2 separate regions of the Homo sapiens genome follow, and region 1 is linked to region 2. Evidence: promoter capture Hi-C in 16 types of primary human blood cells and fetal thymus (Javierre and others, 2016). All regions are on one chromosome and are shown on one strand. The core of a region is centred on a gene start or on the middle of the fragment in contact, and the rest is flanking DNA. Distances in the headings are between cores, read along the strand shown.

Region 1 (3,325 bases), core at 778-3,277, 6.9 Mb before region 2:
CCATCCCCCTACCCAGCGCCCGCTTCCCTCGCCCGAGCCCTTCTCCGGGCCTCGGGCTGCTGCGGGTGCGGGGGAGCCCCGAGTGGAACTCGGCAGACCCGGCGACCCTCTGGGCTCGAGCTCCGGCAGAGTGGTTTGCACCTATCCCGGAGTCCGGCAGCCCAAGCTAGGGGCAGCTGGAGGGAGGTAGAGGCTGTTATTTAGGTTGCAGGAGGATGTTTGAGGGAAGAGCGACCACATCCTGCCCTCCCCGTCCCCGGAGCAGAAGCCGGACCTGCTCGGTGCTTGCCGACTGCGTGACTGCTTTCCCCTTTGCCCACCGTCCTGTGGGGACCCGCAGCATTGATAACTTGGTAGTGAAACCTAGAACTGGTCATTACTGCTAAATGTCTGGTTTATGCTGTTTCCCTTCTGCTTCCCTTTCCCGGGCCGCTGGGACTGTAGTTGGCTAAAGACCGCCCCCTCACCCTGCTGCAGGTTCATTGTTTACCTTCTGCAGTGGAGATGGGTTTGTTTACACCTTCCGAACTGGGGAAACTCGGGTGATATTTTTAATGACCTAATCCCGTTACTAGCCAGTGTTTCCTCTATCACTTACAGTACTAGAGTTTATTCGACATTATCTCGTTGAAGATTTAGTAGTTACGTACAAGATTCTTTTCTCTTCCACGGTAAACAGGATTGAGCCTACTGATTCCGACGAAGTCATATTTCACACGGGCTGTAGCTTGGAGTGTAACCCGGTTCAGCTGTACAGAATCAGTTTCTGAGGTCTATAAAACACCTTAGGAAGTAAACAAAAAAACTTGTTGTAGACATTCTGTATGAGATCAGTTTTTTACCCTATGTCGTACCTGACGTAATGACTGTTATCTACAGTAATTTGTTAAAGCTGGGCTCCTTGTTGACAACGGCTAGAGTGAAAGCATAGTGCATTTTCTAATTTGTTTTATTTTGCTTATCACGATGTAAGATTACTGTTTTATAAACTGAATGGTCAGCTTTCACTTAGCTACAAGAGTACATTTTTATAACTTAATATTTTATTCTGAAAGTTCAGGGACTTAGTTTTGGGTGAACTAGGTCCTTTTACAAGACAGTTTCTAAAATATAATACAATATAGTAGAGCTTAAATCCTGAAAATGGCTACTAATTAGATTATCAATGCACTAATTTCCACCATTTTTTTCAGCAGATCGGTTTTGAGAATTAGTATAGAAAGATGTAAAGCTTTTGACTTCTGTGCAACTGTTTGGAAACTTGACTATAACACACATGTGAAAAATCTATATAAAATAGATTCACTAGAAAACTTCCTAACAAGGATAACTTCTACAATTTCAGGTCTGTAAAAGATGTAATTAGTGAGTGATTTAATTTATATACAGGCATATGTGTTTTAGATGAAGGTGAAGGGAGCCCTTAATAAACTTGAGTTTAACTTGTGCATTAAAAACCTGCTCAGATGTGGTGCTGGAAATATATAGTTGTATTTTAAATTGAGTTCGTCGAGCTCCTATATATAGTGGTTTCTCTGCTTGGTGTCAAAAATGTTGAGTTGTGGAAGAGCTTAGGTACACATCTGATTTGATAATTTTGGCTTACTCCAGTTTTACTGAGGCACACAGGTAACTGTTTACTATTTAAAATGCCATATTAACTGAGAATTTAGTAAGCACCTATGTCCATAGGTATTTCCAGGTTAATATAGATAGTGCAGAAAATGCTGTTTTCGGCTTGCCCTGACAAAATGTACTTCAGTTTGGAATAAAGTATACACAGCCATTTAAAACTGATTGCAAAAATAAAGAGTGAGGGATTGTTTGAGATCTGTATTTCTAAATCATAAGGAAGTTTGGAATTAATCTGAATCAGTCATTTTATAGTGATACTATTGTTTTAAAAAGTTGCTGTTGTGACAGACATTTCATTGTTCAAAGAAGGCTTGAAGAAAATTCATGAGGAATTAAAGTTTAGTAATAATTTGAGAACTGTGAGGCAGTTTGGGTTGCAGCTGAAGGGCAGCTGTTTGTGGATTAGATTACAGTATGTAAAAAGATAAAGTTTGGGCAACCAAAAATTTTTTTGTTTAATGCCAAGGCAGTGTTTGCTTTTATTCTTATTTTTTAAATTTAATCTTTGAGAGATTCATTGTGTAGTTACCTAATAAAGCTCATTATAAAATAGAGGACATGGTCATTGTAATCCCTAAAGGATCCATCAATGTGTAGTGAAAAGAGAGTTGACTATAAAGTCAAATCATTCTGGATTGTAACCTCAGCTGTGAGATTTAATAGTTGGGTGATTTGGGGCAAGTTATTTGACCTTGCTTTACCCCTGATTTCTTCATTTCTAAAATAAGAGATAACTTCAAAGGGTTAAGAATGTGAAAAGTAAATGAGCTAGTTCTTAATTAAAGTACTTGGCATAAGACCGGATACTTTGTAAGTGATATTTAACATTAGTTGCCTTCCTACATTGTGAAATCACAGTTTTAAAACTCACATTAAAAATACTTTAAACGGTTGTTTTGAATATTATAAACTTGTTAATAAGGAATTATGGTATTCGAGCTTCTTTTTTTTTTGAAACATACTGTTATACTAATTGGGTATAGTCTATCTGAGTTAGAGTTCTTGAATATAACAATTGTAAAGCAATCTGTGACATTACCAATAAATTAAGTCTAAGCGAAGTGCAGTATGTTATATTCACTTAGGATAAAATGTGATACTGTATTTCATAGAACCTTAGAATTTTTGTCTCTGACACCAGGACATTTCATACTATTTAATAATGACTTGGCTAGCCTTGCAAGCTTCTTGAGGCTCAGAAGAATTCTAAGTTTCGTTGGTTTTGGTACTTGTGTTAGTGCTGTGGTTCATACATAGAGTGCCTCAGTTAAAAATTGTTGATGGATTAATTTTTATCTAGTTTAGGAACTTCATTATAGTAGACTTTACAGTCAGCGTATTGGTAATGGTTGCTCTGAGTTTTGTTCAGACAACTACTTAATTTGTGAAAGTCCCCAATATTTGCTAATGATATTATTAAATACTGTCTGTAATGCATGCCAAAATGTATTTTGAAGCCCAAATGCTTCCTCTCGCCATTTGTACTGCAAGGATAGACTGTCTTATCAGTCCAGTAGTGCATCTCTTTACTGGTACTGAATCACTTGAAAAGATACAGTGTTCTTCCTGGGTAAACCCCTCCTGGTATACTTTAATTATTGTGTTCAAAGTGAATTCCCAGAATATGGACACACTAGTTCAAATATAATTATTAGAATATAATTTATTTAAAAGTATAGTTGAATTTTAT
Region 2 (3,409 bases), core at 867-3,366:
GAGATTTTCACTACACATATCTTTGTACTCTTTGAACTACATACTTGACTATATTAGTCAAGTAATTTTTTTTTTTTTTTGAGACGGAGTCTCGCTCTGTCACCCAGGCTGGAGTGCAGTGGCGCAATCTCTGCTCACTGCAAGCTCCGCCTCCGGGGTTCACGCCATTCTCCTGCCTCAGCCTCCCGAGTAGCTGGGACTACAGGGGCCCGCCACCACGCCCGGCTAATTTTTTGTATTTTTAGTAGAGACGGGGTTTCACCGTGTTAGCCAGGATGGTCTCGATCTCCTGACCTCCTGATCCGTCCGCCTTGGCCTTCCAAAGTGCTAGGATTACAGGCGTGAGCCAACGCGCCCAGCCAATTTTTTTTTTTTTTTTTTGAGACAGGGTCTTGCTCTGTCTCTCAGGCTGGTGTGCAGTGGCACGATCACCCTCATGGCAGCCTCAAATTCTGGGCTCAAGCGGTTCTCCTGCCTCAGCCTCCCGAAGACCTGGGACTACAGATGTGGGCCACTACTCCTGATTAACTTTTTTCACATAATAAATTAATTACATTTATTTTACAAAGAAATATTTCAAGCTACAACATTTGGTAAAATCAGAAAAGATGAAGAAAAAAGGTCCAAAGAGGGTGTGGGCTGGCGCGGTGGCTCACGCCTGTAATCCCAGCACTTTGGGAGGCCAAGGCCGGCGGATCACGAGGTCAGGTGATCGAGACCATCCTGGCTAACACGGTGAAACCCCGTCTCCACTAAAAATACAAAAAATTAGCCAGGCGTGGTGGCGGGCGCCTGTAGTCCAGCTACTCAGGAGGCTGAGGCAGGAGAATGGCGTGAACCCGGGAGGCAGAGCTTGCAGTGAGCCGAGATTGTGCCACTGCACCCCAGCCTGGGCAACAGAGCAAGACTCCGTCTCAAAAAAAAAAAAAAAAAAAAAAAAAAGAGGGTGTGAATGGGAGAAATTGGTTGAGGTGAAATCGACCTTCACCAAGACAGGTGGGAAAAAGGGAAGGTCTACTTGGTGTGCCCCCTGGACCCTCTCTTCCCTTCATTTAGCACTGTCACTTTCCAGGGCATGGGATGGTAGGCAGCAGCAGTTCTGGATAATGGATTTGTGGAAGAGAAGAATCCATCTAAAGCACTCTTTAGCCACAGCCCATGATCACTTTTTTTAAAAAATTTTTATTTTTTGCTTTGCTGTTGTTCCACTCTGTCCATACATTGTTTAATACAGGATGGCACACAATACCATTCCTGGTTAAATGTTTCACTTAACAAGCGCCACCCTCTACTCCTCCAACTCCTGTCTCAGGTTTGACAGCTATTTTTTTAACCTAATTTGCGCACGCCAAGAGGATTTCACCTAGTAACTACACGGAGAGACATCCGATGCGTACAAAGACGTGGCATGAAACGCTGCAGGTTTATTGTCTCTATAAAAAGATCGTTAAGGTCGAGCGTGCTAACGTGTGCGGTACTAACTGTACTCACTACGCCCTGGTCACTTTATAGCACAAGTCCGAGGCAAGGAAAGAAGTTTTACAAACAAAACTGGTCAACTGTTCTATCTTCTTACTCCTGGAAAACAATAAAGGTCCACTTTCAAACCATTTGGACGCACTTGCTCCTTCTAAAGGGTTAGGGAGTCCCGGCAGATAGCGTACCCCTCCCCGCCCAGCAGCAGAGAGCAAAGTCCTTCCTGCCGATCCTGCAGACCCCGGAGTCCAAATGGGACCCCGTCCACACGACCGCGGAGTCGCCTCCGAAGACGGCGGTGTCTGGGGCGTGGAGGGCACGGCTGGAGGCTGAGTGGGGTCCACCTTCGCGTGGCCCAGGCTCTTCCATTCACGGGGGGCCCCGCCAGGTTCAGGCTCCAGCCCTGGGTAGTGAAGGGGAAACGGGGAACGGAAGGAGGGAGGGCACGTCACGGGAGCAGGACTGCAGGACCGCGGGTCAGGGGGCGCAGGAACGCCAAAGAAAAGACAAGCACCGAGGGCCGGGAAGGGTGTAGGCTGCAGTGGCAGCGGATCCCCGGCCGCCGCTTCCGGCGCCTCCCGGCCCAGCTCTCCCGCGCCGACTCTGCCACATCCTCCGGTGACGTCAGCCGGGGCCGCCATATTGGAAAGGCGCCGCCGCCGCCTCCGCCTTGGAGCTCGGGGTGTTTCGGGGACTGCGGCCACAGGCAGGAAGGCGCTCCTCTCCTGCCCCGCCGACGCCCGGCCAGCCCGCTTCGCCCTGACCTGTTTCCTCATGACTGCCCCCGGCCCTGCTGCCGACGGACGTCGCCCCGGCGTCCGGATTTAACACGGAAACCCGGATCGGAGGCCGCGCGGGGAGGAGGAGGGCGACCCGGTCGGTCCTGCGACCCTCTCGGCCCGGCTCGGCGCCTCGGCGGGAGCCATGACCTCGCTGACCCAGCGCAGCTCCGGCCTGGTGCAGCGGCGCACCGAGGCCTCCCGCAACGCCGCCGACAAGGAGCGGGCGGCGGGCGGCGGCGCCGGCAGCAGCGAGGACGACGCGCAGAGCCGCCGCGACGAGCAGGACGACGACGACAAGGGCGACTCCAAGGAAACGCGGCTGACCCTGATGGAGGAAGTGCTCCTGCTGGGCCTCAAGGACCGCGAGGTGCGGGCGCGGCGGGCTGGGCGGGGGGCGGCGGCGCGGGGCCCGGGCGCCAGGTGAGCTCCAGGTAGGTGCCAGGTGAGCGCCCGAGGCTTCCGGCCCGCGCACCTGCCCTCGCTCCGAAGTCCGCGCCTGGTGGCGCCCAGCTGACGCCGAGCGGTGTCGGAGTTGGTTGACCCCCTGGCGCGGCTGGTGCTTTCTGGATCCTCCCCGTAGAGATGGCTTGGATTTTTCCTTACCCCTTTCACAGTCGCTCCTTTCATTTCGACACCCTGGCAGTTTGTATTTCTTCGTCGCCTTTTTTCCGCGTTTTTAACCCGTGTAGACCCCAGGGTGCAAATCCAACCCGGAGACTGCCCGGGAAACTAACAGCTGGAGCCACCAGCGCCACGAACTCTTTGGGTTTTTGCAGGCTTTAGGACCTGGGAGGGGTGCCCGGATCTGCTTGCTGGGGATGTTTTTTTTTTCTTCTTCTTCAGTTAAAGCTTACTGTTGGGAATTACGAAAAACGTAGGCGAAGTGGTAATAGAGGGAAAAGCTCTTTTACTGAGTAAAGTTAAGTTAAGTTTCTCATGAAACCTCCTGGTAAATGACTTTCTAGGTGAACTTACATTAGGTGAGAGATTATTTTTAGTATCGCTTTTATATTTTATCAGTTGATGAATCTCAAAGTCTTGCCGTCTTAAGAAAGGGCTTTTTCATCGAGTGCTTGAAATGTAGGTTTGTGAGTTGATCAGAGGCCTCAAAGCTTCAGGTGGGTTGAAGTTGCAATAGATAATTCTTTGTA

Evidence for each region. Contacts are between HindIII fragments. The CHiCAGO score rates a contact against its expected background, and 5 or more counts as called.
Region 1: a fragment that was not itself captured here is called in contact with the fragment with the promoter of GOLPH3 in region 2 in 1 of 17 cell types (fetal thymus); the score reaches 7.3 in fetal thymus.

The regions. Positions count from the first base shown.
Region 1 is chr5:39,070,611-39,073,935 of GRCh38, reverse strand. All of the region lies in intron 2 of RICTOR (RPTOR independent companion of MTOR complex 2), which reads left to right. Among named protein-coding and RNA genes, the nearest start is that of RICTOR, 2.1 kb to the left of the region's middle. RefSeq lists a silencer at 1-239 and an enhancer at 178-704. The HindIII fragment of the contact is 1,588 bases long and covers 1,234-2,821 here.
Region 2 is chr5:32,173,026-32,176,434 of GRCh38, reverse strand. It overlaps GOLPH3 (golgi phosphoprotein 3), which reads left to right and starts at 2,116. Exons shown (of 4, transcript NM_022130.4): 1 at 2,116-2,625. The coding sequence starts at 2,401. RefSeq lists a silencer at 2,223-2,832. The HindIII fragment of the contact is 5,568 bases long and covers 1-3,109 here.